Regions from separate parts of the Homo sapiens genome. Here regions 1, 3 and 4 are each linked to region 2. Evidence: promoter capture Hi-C in human tissues and cell types (Jung and others, 2019). All regions are on one chromosome and are shown on one strand. The core of a region is centred on a gene start or on the middle of the fragment in contact, and the rest is flanking DNA. Distances in the headings are between cores, read along the strand shown. Region 1 overlaps CHST8 (carbohydrate sulfotransferase 8). Region 2 holds the start of CHST8 (carbohydrate sulfotransferase 8). Region 3 overlaps CHST8 (carbohydrate sulfotransferase 8). Region 4 has its middle 38 kb from the start of CHST8.

Evidence for each region. The method cuts DNA at HindIII sites, captures the fragments that hold promoters and counts their contacts. A contact is called where the count stands out against the background at its distance.
Region 1: a fragment that was not itself captured here is called in contact with the fragment with the promoter of CHST8 in region 2 in 7 of the 25 tissues and cell types used here (H1 embryonic stem cells, dorsolateral prefrontal cortex, neural progenitor cells and 4 more).
Region 3: a fragment that was not itself captured here is called in contact with the fragment with the promoter of CHST8 in region 2 in 3 of the 25 tissues and cell types used here (H1 embryonic stem cells, dorsolateral prefrontal cortex and spleen).
Region 4: a contact is called between a fragment that was not itself captured here and the fragment with the promoter of CHST8 in region 2, in 9 of the 25 tissues and cell types used here (H1 embryonic stem cells, bladder, dorsolateral prefrontal cortex and 6 more).

Annotation. Positions count from the first base shown.
Region 1 is chr19:33,683,483-33,687,270 of GRCh38, forward strand. All of the region lies in intron 2 of CHST8 (carbohydrate sulfotransferase 8), which reads left to right. Among named protein-coding and RNA genes, the nearest start is that of CHST8, 63 kb to the left of the region's middle. The HindIII fragment of the contact is 7,407 bases long and covers 1-3,788 here.
Region 2 is chr19:33,619,676-33,623,488 of GRCh38, forward strand. It overlaps CHST8 (carbohydrate sulfotransferase 8), which reads left to right and starts at 2,278. Exons shown (of 5, transcript NM_001127895.2): 1 at 2,278-2,621. RefSeq lists an enhancer at 1,239-1,983. The HindIII fragment of the contact is 24,734 bases long and covers 1-3,813 here.
Region 3 is chr19:33,662,635-33,666,091 of GRCh38, forward strand. The region is part of intron 1 of CHST8 (carbohydrate sulfotransferase 8); the gene reads left to right. Among named protein-coding and RNA genes, the nearest start is that of CHST8, 42 kb to the left of the region's middle. The HindIII fragment of the contact is 6,325 bases long and covers 1-3,457 here.
Region 4 is chr19:33,581,940-33,585,759 of GRCh38, forward strand. No RefSeq gene overlaps it. Among named protein-coding and RNA genes, the nearest start is that of CHST8, 38 kb to the right of the region's middle. RefSeq lists an enhancer at 1,126-1,627. The HindIII fragment of the contact is 3,433 bases long and covers 1-3,039 here.

The DNA.
Region 1 (3,788 bases), core at 518-3,017, 63 kb after region 2:
GTTTCTTCCTTGCTTCTTCCTTGCCTCCTGTCATAGGATTGGGCTACTCTTTGGACCTGATTCCAAGGCAGCTCTGAGGAAAACAAACCCTCAGCTCCCTGAAACATAGATGACCTTTTTAAAATTCCAGGTTCATGGAGTGCCTCTCTCCAGATGGCCCCAAACACTTCCATCTATTAACTCGTGCTCATTCAACGTGCAGCAGAGGCTATTGATCACCTTCCCTGTGCCGGGGACTGTGCTAGGTGCTGGGAATACAAAGATGGGGAGAGGCCTCGATGCGATTCCCGATTCAGAGGCAGGTGGCAAATGCTTTTCCCACAGTGAGGGAAGGGCTGTCACCGCGATGGTGCTCTCAGGGAACCAAGGTTCACACATTCAGGGAATTCGGGGCACTGAGTCAGCATTCTAGACTCTGCCAGGATGAGGAGGAGCAGGGGACTCAGTTTCTTTACATGCAGAATGACTGTCCCCTGCCCTGCCCCACTGGCATAAAATGTCCTCAACATGTAAGAAGCCCTGGGCAGAGATAGTGTCCAGGGTGTGGTCAGTTGACGTGGCCTGTCAGTCTTTGGCCACGCTCTCAGGCCCCCCTCGCTGTGGCTGTGTGTTTGCAGGCGCCCCTCAGACTCCAACTGGAATGTGTCCGTGATGGTGGGAGGCCGGGCTGTGGTGCTCCTAGTAGGGCTATGGTGGCAAGCTTTAGGACCTTGTGAGCCTGATTCACCCGGTAATCTCCACCTCGGAACGCCCTTTCTCCCCGCTGCAGAGCATGGGGCTGGGGGGGAGTGGAGAGAACCCTGCCTTGTAACAGGGCAGCGGACAGCAGGTAAATTGCCTTCCCCGGGAGTAGCGTGCCGCCCGGCAGGGGCCTGGGTGTGCCAAGGCCCGGCTCTGGGGATTTCAGGACCCAGGCCAGCGCTCCCCAGCAGCAGGGCAGGAGGCAGCCTGAGAGTCGGCAGCCCCGCCTTGGAGTCTGAGCACTCGCGCCCATCCGTCAACCTTGCAGAGCATTGCAACTTTATGCCTACGCATAAAAACTGGAGGGACTCGTCCCAGAGTTTGCTGCCGCCGCCGCCGCTGCCATTAGAGCGGTTTTAATTAGCTGCAGGATTTTTAATGAGCTGAAATCAAGAAGAGCCCCATCTCAGAAGTAAGCGAGAGCCGCGCGCAGGGAAGAACTAGTCTGACAAAACAGAAGGAGGTGGTGCTCTCGGGGGACTGGGCTGTAGGCTCCCACCGATCGATCGGCGACGAGCAGATGAGTTCCCGAGGCCAGGAGGCTGAGGAGGGAAGCCAGGGCTCAGAGACCAGCGCCCGGTGCAGAGTCCCCGCTGCTGCCACCGCGGCAGAAGGCACGGTGCCGGATTCAAGGTGACGGCAGTGCCTGGCTCCATTCTCCTCAAGTTGCCATAGCAGCCTCTCTCCCAACAAGCAGCTTCTCCGGGAGCCCTCAGCCGGGAGGGACGTCATTGTTCTCTCCTGCCCGTGTGGTGCAAGGAGACCCACCGGACAGAGAACTTTCCCGAGCCCGGGGTCCGCTGACCACGTGGGTGCACCCATGCTGCCTGGAGCCAGGCACAGGGACAGGTCCCCACGGCCACAGGGAATCCTCTGGGCAGCTGAGGGGAGCGTCCAGGCCCAGAAGCAGCTGCAGCCAAGCGTGTCCTTGGAGCCGTCCATGCGTCTGTCCGCCTGCTGCCGGTCGCCACTGGAGGTGCGTGTGTTTTGGCTGAATTCCCAAGTCCTTGCTTGTGCCCTGAAGTGAATTTCTTCAAAGAGACACATTTTTAAATCAAATAAATAAGGAAATGGGAGGAATCCTTCGCCCTGCCCTGTGTCCCAGGAGGGGTTTATAAGATTAATTGGATCTTTTTTTTTTTTTTTCTTAAAGTAAAAATTGGTGACGCCATTCAGGCCTGGGGGAGAAAAGCCACCAGGAGGACTAGGAATTGTGAGGCCAGGCAGGAGCTGCTGGAAACTCGCTGGGGCTGTTTATTTTTCTTGCCTGAACCCTCCCTCTTCTCTGCCCCTGGAAGGCTGGATTTTCTTATTGTCTGTTGGTCTTGGGATGGGTGTAAGCAGGTGAAGGCAGGTTTTGCCCTTGTCATCGGAGCTGAGAGTGATATAGTCTGTGATGAGGATGGGACAGTCCCAGGTGGAGGCTGAGGCCTGTGACTGTGTTTATGCCTCATCCCCCAGCCTTCCAGGCCCCAGCCTGTGACAGATGGTGGTGTCCACTCCCCAGGCAGCAGCTGGACTCCCAGGAGAGGGAGACAGACAGCTCTTAGACCAGCAGCTCCTGTTGCCTTGAAAACAACGTGCGACTTGGAAGCCTGGGGTCCTCCGAGGAACAATAGAGGATTCTACACCCCCTGGAATGCCCGGGGATCTGTCGGTGACCACCCTCCCTTCCCACACCTTAGGGGAAAGGAGTGTTCTATAGAGTCCAGTTGGCCAGCCATACTGCTGGCCAGTTACCCAGGAGGGGAGGCACGCTGACCTTTTGATTCCTGTTTGCACGGAGCAGGGAGTTAGCTGGTCAGATGGTCCCCAGTGAGAACAAACACAGAGCTGAGGGTCCCAGAGGGAAAAGCTGGGGTCTGAGGCTTAGGGGCTAAACCCTGAAGCCACAGACGGCTCCAATGCCAGCTTCCCTGGGTATAGAGAGAGGGTGTTCGTGTTCTCTCGGGGGCCAGCAAAGGCAGGGTCTTTGAAAGGGGAAACGTGAACAGATGAAGCTCCACCACCATGGAGGTGTGGTCCTGGGTCTGTGTCTTCTTCCCCTTCCTGGATTTGGGGGCATGGATCTGGTCCTTGCCCTGGCTCCCAGGCACATGGGTGGCTGGAGCCAGGCATCATGGGGTGGGTTTGGTTTGGGGCGGTTCAGAAACAAGTGAGGACAGGTCTTCGCTGCAGACCCATTTAGTCCTTGACAGTGGATGTCGGTACTGGCTCGAATGGAGACAGACTGGGGAGAAGAGAGGACCGGCCAGCTCTCTTGTAACCACTCTGCAGCGCCAGCTACTGAACAAATGAGATGATGATCACACATGCTCCCGAGTCCCCTTTGTTCATCAGGTAGAGCCTGATATTGAGGGACCCATTATTAGCTGTTTTACCAGGCAGTTCTGGGCGCTAGCCATGAAGCTGTTCTCCTTCCTCTCTCCCTCCTTCCAAAATGTCTTGATGTTGGAGGCTACCCTAGGTCAAACTGGCTTCCCGGTGTCTGACTCAGGAGGCTGCAGGAAGCGCACCCACACCGTGGCCAGCTTACTCAGGGGCTCGCGACAGTTGCTTTCCAGCTGGGGCCTTGCTGGGGACCATCGATGGTATGTGTGCAGGCACTGGCCGGCATGCACCCGGGCATGTATGCATATGTGTGTTATTGAACCCGCGTCTGCTTAGGTCCGTGGGTGCGGTGCACATGTGAACACCGTCCCCATGACCGTGCAATAGCAGCTGCTCCCGAGAGACCTTGCAGGTTCTTCCTGGTCCCCATCTGAGAGCCATGGCCCCCCTGTGTCGGTGCGTGACATCTTTTCCATTCTTCTAACTCCTTTCTATGACTGCCTGGGGCTCCCCCGAGTGAGGCTGGAGAGAACAGCTTTGCCTGCCTTGTCAGCTGCTCACTCTCTCCTGAGGCTTTGGGGCTGGCCCCGGTGGGGCTGGGACTCTGCAGTGCAGTGCTGTCCTCACAGAGGGAAGGGCTTGGGGGACGGTAGGGCATCGCAGCCTGCTGTGGGGCTTACAGTGCTGCATCTGTGTCTTTGCAAGGCAGTGAACCC
Region 2 (3,813 bases), core at 1,028-3,527:
AGTACAGTTGGGAAAGCTAATGGAAAAACCATCCTTCCCAGGAGGATCGCGGCACACAGATGCACAGTGTTGCTGAGATGGCTTGGCTCGCTCCACTCACTGGTCACGGCAAAGCCTGTATAGATGCATCCCAGGGAAATAAAGCCTGTGTAGACTTGTCGCATGGAAGTACTCATGGTCCAGAGCCCCCTTTCCAGCTTTGAGGCTGGGCTCTGGAAATGGGAGCTCCTATTATCTCCCCATTGCAGTTAAGTCTCTCTTTCTCTCTCCGTGTGTGTGCATGTGTGTGTGTGTGTGCATGCATTTGCCCTCTGGAGTGTTCATGGTACTGAAGAGATTCTCTTGACCATCAGGCCTCTGTGGCAAAAGTTGTGTGCTCTGTTCCAGGCCTAACTGCAGACAGGGAGCTCATGGGCAGCTGCCCAGCCAAGCTATGGTCAGGACCTTGGGTGGCAAGAGGGGCTGCAAGTGTGGGGTAAGGGGACCACAGGGACAGGGATGGGGTCATTGCACTGTGAGCTAGTCCGGCAAGTGACTTTTTGCTCACTCCACTCTCCCCTCTCTTTGTTCCTACCTTCTCTCCTGCTCTGCTCCAACAGCTTTGGGATGTAGGATGAATAAGGGTTCCACTGCCCTGTTTTTCCTGACACTTGAGTCCCTGGCCCTTGCACTCAGCTCCTCCAATCTGCACCTGACTGAGGCGGAGGAGGGTGATTTCAGACACACACACACACACACACACACACACACATTCCCCTCATGCGTGCAGCCAGTGGAGTGTGCCTGGGTCCCAGCGCAGCCCCAGGCCTGGGTCACTCCGAGCCTAAAGTCCTGGAAAGGGAACCCCAGAACAAAGCCTATCCCAGTTTGGAATCATCACACCTGGGCCATTCTCCAGATGCGTGGAGTCCAGCAAAATGGTGGCATTTTTGCATCTCAATTCGCTCATCTGTAATACGGGAGTGATAATGTCTACTCTGTTGCTGCAAGAATTAAAGGAAGACCATGATCTCTTTGTCATGCTTCTATTTATCTTCTTATCTGTCCTGGTCTATTTTTGGATGCTCTGAGCTTACCTGGGGCATTAAGGAGGCCTCATGGCCCTGGGGCTGAGGGGCTCCCTGGCCGTCCCCAGGAGTGGCTCTGCTCTCCGCCTGGTGTCCCCCACTCTGGTCAGTCAAGACCCATGGGCCCAGCTCACTCCCCAATTCCATCACTCACTCTAGGTCAGCTGGTAGGAGTCAGGCCAACCAGCCAGCAGGTACCATTAGAGAGGAGAGAGTAAGGGTCTTTCACTTTATTAAAGGCTTCTCTGCTGTTGTTTGAAAATACTGAGTGTCCCTTCAAGACTAACAGGTGACTGTGTGCACAGTTTCCTCCAGCTCCTGTGAGAAAGCAGTTGCCCCCCTTCCCAAGGCCTGCTTGTCCCCTGCAGGCTGGGGCTGCCTCTTCTTAGGAAGAACAAGGACCCGAATCCAGGGCCCCGTGTTCCTGTCCCTACTCTGTCCCGGTGCTGTGTGGCCGTGGGCCGGTTCCACCCTCCACGCTGTTTTCCCGAGTGTGTATGAAGAGGGTCGGTTGGCCCCGCTCTCAGGCTGGTGACCCGACACAAACTTCCAGGATGAAGTCCTGAAGGGAGCACCTGTTCGCAGGGCACTTTCAGCAGAATCTAGAGCCCCAGGGATTTGAGGATGGATGCGGACACCCGGGCCTGAGGCAGCTCGCGGCCTTGACCGAATTCCACGCGAGCTGAAGCCCAGGGATATCCCAGAATCTTCCTCAGGATCAATCTTCCGCCTTTCACCGGCCCTGCGCCCCCGCAGCATCGGGTCCTGGGCGCGCGCCCCTGCCCCGCTGTGGTCAAGGCCCGCCCCGGTGACGCCTGGTCCTTTTCCCGGGTTGGCGCCGCGTGCGACCCACCGAGGCAGTGGCAGCACTGGCCGCGGTCTGGAGCCTAGCGTCAGGCCGGAGTCCGGCTCTCCTGAACCGGGAGACCGGCGCAGCCCCAGCCACGACCGCTCCCACCCCCGCGGCCGCCGGACCGCGCCCAGCAGCGACTCTTTCTGAGAGCGCTGCCAGAGGGGCCGCGGGAGCCGCAGAGCGCGCGTGGGCGCGGCGCCCGCGAGCCCCCGGGAGGGCCGAGTGCATCGCTGGAGCGATCCCCGCCCGGCCCGGCCACCGCCGTAGCCGCCACCACGGCGGGGCGGGGCACGGGCCGGGGGCGGGGCGCCGGGCGGGCGCGGCGCTATTTCCAGCCTCGCCGGAGGCTTCGCTCTCACTTCGCTGGGAGCCTTCCCGGCGCGCAAGCCGGATCCGGCAGTGCTGCGGGGAGGAGAGAGGACGAGGCGGCGGCGGCAGCAGGAGGTGGGGGACCGATCGCGCCGGGGGCCGAAGAGGAACGCCGCCCCGCGCCCTCTCGCTCCCCGCACGCTCCGGCTGCCGGCCCCACGCTGCTCGCCCACAGATCGCACTGGGTTCCGCTTGGAGCGGGCGGAGGCACCGGGCCCGAGCTGGGTCGGAGGTCCTCTCCGCCGCCTGCGCGCCCCAAGCAGAGGATCCGCCGCGGAGAACCGCTCCCGGACTGGAGGCGCCCGCGGCCTCGGGTGCGTCCGCTGCGCCAGGTAAGTGGCTGCGCCCCTGCCCCACCCCTGTTCCCGCCCTGCGCAGGCTCCTGGCCTGCAGAGACGCCAGGAAGGGGTCCCGAGCGGGCCCCGGACTGCACCGCTCGCCATCCCCGCCACCGCACGCGAATGGGAGTCCGAAGCTGCGGGCGGAGGTGGGCGCGCGGGGCTCGGGTCTGGTTGCACTTTGGGGACCGGCCCCGGTAGCGGGAACTTTAATTAGACTTTCTCTCCTTGGATCTCACTCGCTGCCGCGCTTCTGGGAACTGCCGTCCCTCGGGCCCTCTTGGTCCCTGCGGACTCCCGCTCCGCCTCCTGGCCCTCGGTGCTGCCCGCGGGGAGGCGGCGTCGGGCGCTGAGCAGCGAGCGCCGAGGGCCAGGCAGGAGCGCTCGGGGCGCTGGGGCTTCCTGGCGCGCTCGGAGCCGGGGCTCCGGACGGGTTGCGGCGGGCAGAGACTATGGGGGAAGTTTAAGTGGCCTTGGCTTCCTACCCAGCGGCTCCGTCGCGCGCGTCCCCGACCCGCAACTCTCCAGGGCACCGGCCTGTGAGTGCTGGAGGCGAGTGTGCGTGCGTCAGCGATGGTGTGAAGGTGTGTGCGTGCGTGTGTCGGGAGTGCGGGAGTCGGAGCCTGGGGCGGCTCCAGGGGGCGGGGAAATGATCCGTTTGGCCGCGGGACCGAGCCGAGCTCTGACGGCGGCTGCAACTCCGGCTACCGACTCTGCAGACCCGCTCTGGCCTCGCTGGAGGCCAGCCGGGCCAGGAGGGCGATCACGGGTTTTGGCAGTGCCCGATGCTGGGGCTTGGGTCTGATGTGACCCCGATTCCTTCTCCAGTGCGGGACTCCCGCCGCCCTAACTTTCGCGTACATCTTGTCTCCAGGCCCGCGACCCCGACCCGGAGTTGAAGCGGCTGCGGCGCCCTCGGCTGTGGGCGCTGCTGCCCGGCTGTCTGTTTTAACCCAGAAGTAGGCGCCGATCCTGGGGCTCTCTGTCCTGCAGTCGTCTCCGGCGTCCCAGAGGACTCTGCGTCCCTGGGCCACTCCCGCTGGCTCAGGAGCCGTGATCAGCTCCGTTAAGGGGAACGCGCGTCCCGGCCCCTCTCCATCTGCTTGGCGCGATCTGGCGCAGCAGCAGAGCACGTGGGAGAGGCGTTGGGTGCAGGGAGGTAGTAGCTGCTTTGGAGTGGATGGTG
Region 3 (3,457 bases), core at 722-3,221, 43 kb after region 2:
CTGGAACAAACGGATGAGGTAAAGGTGGAGGGGCAGGAGGAAGGAGGTGGTGAAGGGAGGAGGGGAAGAAGAGGAGAGGAAAAGGTGGTGGAGAGGATTGTTCCTGAGCCCAGCTCTGGGTTCTGCCTGTTCCCGAACGCCAACCTTTGCTGCACTGCTCCCAGTGGGTGCCAACTCAGAATGCCTGTTTAAGTCACTCCACAAAACTCAGCTTCTCAATCTGTTTTATATTTGCAAGGGCCAGATCCACATTCCTTTTTTAAAAGTCAAGCTTCTGAGACAGTCATTTATATTCACAGTGATTCTCCTTTCAAAGACTGCTTTGCATGGGGCGTGTAGAGTCATGGATCTTAGGGACTCTGCCAGGAAAGGCTCAGGGTCACACAAAGACCCCGTGATGGTGTCTGTGTTGTAGAGGAAGACCGAGGAACTCTCCAATATGCCTGGGTGGAGGTATCTTCAAATGGACAGGATGCGTGGCCGGAGCCTGCCGTCCATCCACTGAAAAGTCACTTTCTGAAGTGACCCCTGGACAAAGGATCCTTCTTCCTGGGAAGAACAGCTGGTTATGGATGCTTCAGATGTTTGTGTGCATGGAGATTGGACTTTGCAACACCCACACTTTGAAATATTCTGGACAGTTAGTTAAAAAGCATCAGGTGGCCCACACCTATAATCCCAGCACTTTGGTAGGCCGAGGCAGGAGGATTGCTTGAGCCCAGGAATTCGAAATGAGCCCGGGCAACATAGCAAGACCCTGTCTCTACAAAAAACTTAAAAATTATCTGGGCCTGGTGACTCGTGCCTGTGGTCCCAGCTACTCAGTGGGCCAAGGCGGGAGAATCACCTGAGCCCAGGAAGTCAAGGCTGCAGTGAGCTGTGATGGCACCACTGCCTCCGGCCTGGGGGACCTAGTGAGACCCTGTCCCCCAAAAAGGTTTAAAAAGCAGGAGGGGCCAGGTGCAGTGGCTCACGCCTGTAATCCTAGCACTTTGGGAGGCAGAGGCAGGCGGATCACTTGAGGCCAGGAGTTCGAGACCATCCTGGCCAACATGGTGAAACTCTGTCACTATAAAAATACAAAAATTAGCAGGACATGGTGGCAGGTGCCTGTAATCCCAGCTACTTGGGAGGCTGAGGTAGGAGAATCGCTTGAACTCGGGAGGTGGAGTTTGCAGTGAGCCGAGATCCTGCCACCGCACTCCAGCCTGGGTGAGAGAGTAAGACTCCATCTCAAAAAATAAATAAATACATAAAATAAAAAGCATGAGGTAGGTCCATATGCACTGCTGGGAAAGATGTCTGAACAGTGTTGTTAAGTGAAAAAAAGCAAACCGTAGCACAATATGTACATATATACACCATTTATGGCAAAAACACACACAAAGCCACACTGTATGTCCTCTATTTACATATTTGTAAGTTCATATCTAAAAGTCTGAAAGGAATTATGCCAATGATCGCAGTTCGGAGTGGACTGGATTGGGGCGACTTTCAAAGGAATCTTCACTTCCACTGTATTGTTTGAAGTTTTTTCCTGTGAGAATGCATTCCTGTGTACTTGTGTAATTTAAAGAGATATATGGATTTAGAACTGGGAATCTATATGGTTTACCCTGAGCTTCTGGGATTTTCTTTTTTATTTATTTATTTATTTATTATTATTATACTTTAAGTTTTAGAGTACATGTGCACAATGTGCAGGTTAGTTACATATGTATACACGTGCCATGCTGATGCGCTGCACCCACTAACTCGTCATCTAGCATTAGGTATATCTCCCAGTGCTATCCCTCCCCCCTCCCCCCTCCCCCCTCCCCACAACAGGCCCCAGAGTGTGATGTTCCCCTTCCTGTGTCCATGTGTTCTCATTGTTCAATTCCCACCTGTGAGTGAGAACATGCGGTGTTTGGTTTTTTGGGATTTTCATTTTTATTTCTTTGAGTGATTATGTTAAGTGGCTTACCCAAAAAAGTTCACTGGACATCTCAAAAGGTTATTTGACAGATGATTTAAAAAAAATTATACTGCCATTTTTATGCATGTGCTTAAATATCTCAAATTGTTTTCTAAAATTGGTTGGGAATATATTTGCTTTTTTCCCCCCTTTATCTTGCCCCATCCCCTTCCCAGCCTCTGGTTACTGCCAATCTTGTCTCTGTCTTCATGAGATCCAATTTTCTGGTTCCCACGTATGAGTGAGAACATAATGATATTTATCTTTCTATGCTTGGCTTATTTCACTGGACATAATGGTCTCCAGTTCCATCCATGTTGCTGCAAATAACAAGATTTCATTCTTTTTAATGGCTAAATACTATTCCATTGTGTGTATGTACCGTATTTTCTTTATCCATTTATCCACTGATGGGCACTTAGGTTGATTTCACATCTTGACTATTGTGACTAGTGCCGCAATAAACGTGGGAGTGTAGATATCTTTGTAATACGCTGGTTTCCTTTCTTTTGGATATATACCCAGGAGTGGATCATATGGTAGTTCTATTTTTAGTTTTTTTGTGGAATCTCCATACTGTTCTTCATAGTGGCTGTACTAATTTACATCCCCACCAACAGTGTACAAGAGTTCCCCTTTCTCCATATCCTTACTAGCATCTGTTATGCCAGACAGACTATTTATAAGTGAATTATATTTGTAGTTTAGGCCAGAGGTCAGCAGACTTTTTCGTAAACGACCATGGAGTAAATATTCTAGGCTTCATGGACAAAAAGGTCACTGTGGAAGTCACTCAATTGCCATCATAATGTGAAGGCACCCACAGATGATACAGAACAGGCGTGGCTGTGTTCCAATAAAACTTTATTTCCAGGAACAGGTGGCTGGAGGGTGTGGTCCATGGGCCACAGTTTGCCGAACACTGGTTTAATGGATTGCAAGACACAGATGGGTATGGAAATGGAGGAAGATGGCAAATGGAAATGTGTTGGACATTTAATCAGAACTAGCATGTCGAAAGGATTGTTTGAGTATCTTCAAAACTGAAAAAAAAAAAAAGCTTTTCTCAAGTGCAATCCTGTAGCCTCTTCCTGCTGGACCAGGGTGAGGCTGGGGCCGCAGAACCCAGGAGCAGTGTCCCCCAAGGAACACTTCCTCTGTGACTCCTGATGGGTAGAGGGTGGAGGGGATGGGCAGGCCTTCCTCAAGCCTGAGTTTGCACATGGTTCACACTCAGTGGGCATCCGGGAAAGTGATCAGGGCCCCAGTGGCCCACCCAGCTCTGGGCAGGCAGCAGACAAGGTCAGACTGGGGTGGACAAATGACAAAATGACATCCTCAGGTTTGGGAGGGGACAAGTGGTGTCTCTGCAGCTGGAGGCCGAAAGGCAGGCCTCTGGCTCCGGGACGGGGTGTCGGAAACGGCTGTGCCCCACACAGCTTTCTCGTGGATCATGTCTGTGCAGGTGCCTTGGGGCCTGAGAAAGAAGCAACGTTGGCT
Region 4 (3,820 bases), core at 73-2,572, 39 kb before region 2:
TGTCACACAGGGGGAATCTGGCCCTCTCTTACTCTCACTGTCTCCCCCTCTCACCCTCTCTTTGCCCTTTAGCCATATTGTGAAGCAGCAAGAAGGCTCTTATGAGATGCTGACCTTGTTGATCTTGAACTTCCCAGCCTTCAGAACCACGAACCAATAAATTCCTGTTCATTATAAATTACCCAGTCTGTGGTATTCTGTTACAGCAACACAAAATGGACTAAGACAGTCTTCTCTGCTGTCTCTCCCATAGGCAGTTCTGCCAGATCCCCCAAAGCCCACCAATCCCCTCACCCCAGGGCTCCAGAAGAGGTTATGTCCTCTTTGGAGGTGGACCCATCCTGATGGCCTTGGACCTGTGGCTCCCTGGGCCTCCCATCAGCCCCTCTATTTGGAGAGTCACTGCAGCCAGGAGCCCCAAGAAGGGACTTCTCAATTCCCCAATAGTGGACACTGTGTTGCTCCACCCAGATCTCCTCTCCAGGGGCTGATGCCACTATGCTGGTCGGGGTTCTCCAAGGAGACAGAGCCAACAGATAGATAGATGATGATAGATAGATGATAGATAGATAGATAGATAGATAGATAGATAGATAGATAGATAGATAAACACACATGAGAGAGAGAGAGAGATAACAGAAGTCAGGCACAGTGGCTCACACTTATAATCCCAGCACTTTGGAAGGCCAAAGTGGGAGAATCGTTTGAGCCCAGGTTCAAGACCAGCCTGGGCAACACAGTGAGACCCCCATCTCTACAAAAGATCTGTATGTATGTACGTATGTATCTATTATCTACATGAGATTTTTTAGGGGAATTGTCTCGTGGTTATGGAGGCTGAGGTTTCCCATCCTCAGCCACCTGCCAGCTGGAGACCCGGGTATGTTGGGAGTGTGACTCACTCCAAGTCTGAAAGCCTCAGAACCAGGAAAGCTGGTGGTATAACTCTCAGTCCGAGGCTGAAGGTCTGAGAACCTGGGCTGGGGGCCACTGGTGCAAGTCCTACAGTTCAAAGCCTGGAGAACCTGGAGTTCTGATGTCTCAGGGCAGGACAGTAGGGATGTGTCTGCTCCAGGAAAGAGAGTGAATTCACCTTTCCTCTGCCTTTTCGTGCTATCCAGGCCCCCAGCCAATTGGTGGTACCCACCCACATTGAGGGCGGATCTTCCCAACTCAGTCCATTGACTCACATACCAGTCTCCTCTGGAAACACCCTCTCAGACACAACCAGAAATAATGCTCTCCCAGCCGTCTAGGTGTCCCTTAATCCAGACAAGTTGATGCCTAAAATTAACCATCATGGCCATTATCCCCATGGGAGCTGGGAATATCCCTGCCTTCTTCCCTGGGAATTCCCTTGGCACCCGGGAAGCACCTTTCCTAAGTTTATGCCTCCTGTGGGGTGATCCTGTATCCAGCGACTGGCTGATGTGGGAGTACAAAGCCCTGCCCCTCACCTCAGTTTGGGGCAACTCTGAAGGCGTGTCCAGCTCCAGGGCTCCCCCAGGCCTGGCTGAGGCCTAGCTGTAACTGCACTGGGGGGTCGCCTTCCCTCTCTGCCCACCCTCGCCCTCCCCGCTTCCCTATAGGGGGTCTCTCCTGAGAGCCATCAGTGTAAACCTCCTGCCCCAAACTCTCCACCTCAGCTGCTTCCAGAGAACTCAGCCTAAGATGCCTTTGGGCTCTGGGGCCAGGTGGCTGTGAGCACAGGGGGCACGGGCTTGCATCCTCTTGGAATTTTCACTGCAAACTCAGAGTCCTGACTTTCACAGGTCTGGCCGTCTCATGGGTCTGGCCCCATAGGCCTTCCCTAGCTCAGCCCTTGGGCAGCAGACTCCCTTTGTAATAGACACTGTGGCTCCTCTTCGATGCCCTGTTCCATACTGGGCACCTCTGCCCTGGATTCCACCATCTGTACCTGCCACTCCTCAGAAGATCACCCAGGGTTAGGGAGCTGCCCTGCCCACAGGTGCAGAGAGTCTTAAGTTCCTGGAAGCTGATGAGAGCCTGGGCAGTGCTTAGTCAATGACTGACAGGTGCAGGAGTAGGAAAGCCCAGCTCCATTGCCTCAAGGTGAGGACAGCCGGACTTTGCCTGAGATCCCAATCTTGATTGACTTCTTACTCTTCCCTGGCCTGATCCCCCCTACCTTTCTAGCATCAGGGACTAGTTTCATGGAAGACAATTTTTCCGTGGATGGTGGGGGAGGGGAGATCAGGGATGGATTGGGGATAAGTCTGTTTCACCTTAGATCCTCAGGCATTAGTTAGATTCTTATAAGAAGCATGCAGCCTAGATCCCTCACATGCACAGTTCACAAAAGAGTTCACACTCCTATGAGAATCTAATGCCACCGCTGATTTGACAGGAGGCAGAGCTCAGGCAATAATGTTCACTCACCTGCCACTCACCTCCTGCTGAGGCCATGAACCAGTACTAGTCCATGGCCTGGGGCTTAAGAACCCCTGCTTTATAACTCATTTGCCCATGAATGTCGATCTCAGGCTTCTCTAGGGAACCCCACCCAAGACACTTCTCTCAACAAGAGAAAAAAATGGAGTCCAGACAGCGCCAACATATATACACACATTCAAGCCTGGGGGGCTTGCATCTTGTAGTTTGCATGTTTATTTCAGGCCGGGAAGGACTTTCTCCCACCCAAGGATCCGCCATGTGAGAATCACTCATCCGCATTTCCTTCCATTATTTTTGAGAGCTTCATTTGTTATGATTAAAGCTTTAATCCACTATTGGAATTTATTTTGGTGCATGGTGTTGAGAAGGAAACCAATTTAATATTTTTCATAAAACAGTTAACTAATGATCACAGCACCATTTATTTATTTATGTAGTTTTTAAATTAAAAATGAATTAGAACATGAAATGATCTCCAAGATATTATTAAGTAAAAGGAAAAACAAAGTGCAGGATAGTGTGTATAATAAGCTCTTATTTATTTATTTATTAAATACATAAAAGGAGGCTGAGCGCGGTGACTCATGCCTGTAACCCCAGCACTTTACCAAGGGGGAATATTGCTTGAACCCAGGAGTTCAAGACCAGCCTGGGCAACCTAGTGAGACTCCCATCTCTAAAAAATTAAAAATTAAAAAAATTAAGGTTGACCGGGCACGGTGGCTCACGCCTGTAATCCCAGCACTTTGGGAGGCCGAGGTGGGCGGATCTCAAGATCAGGAGATTGAGACTATCCTGGAGAACATGGTGAAACCCTGTCTCTACTAAAAATACAAAAAAACTTAGCCAGGCGTGGTGGCAGGCACATGTAGTCCCAGCTACTCGGGAGGCTGAGGCAGGAGAATGGCGTGAACCTGGCAGGTGAAGCTTGCAGTGAGCCGAGATCACGCCACTGCACTCCAGCCTGGGCGACATAGTGAGACTCTGTCTCAAAAAAAAAAAAAAAAAAAAATTAAAGTTGTACATGTCTGTAGTCCCAGCTACTAGGGAGACTGAGACAGGAGGGTTGATTAAGCCTGGGAACTCGAGGCTGCAGTGAGCCATGATCATGCCACTGCACTCACTCCAGCCTGGGTGACAGAGTGAGACCCTGTCTCAAAACAAAACAAAATAAAACATACATATAAGGCCATCTATAGGCATGGACAGTTTCTATAAGGTTTTGTAGAAACTGTTGATAGTGGTTGCCTCCCGATAGAGGGCCAGGGCTCTGAAGTGGAAAGGAGAACTACTTCTCACTGAGTATTCTGTGATCCATTTGAATTTTTTGTCATATTCGGTCATTAGCTTTTTAGTAAAATTTAAGCGAATTTTAAAAATTTAAGACTCTGTGGGTTGCAAGTAA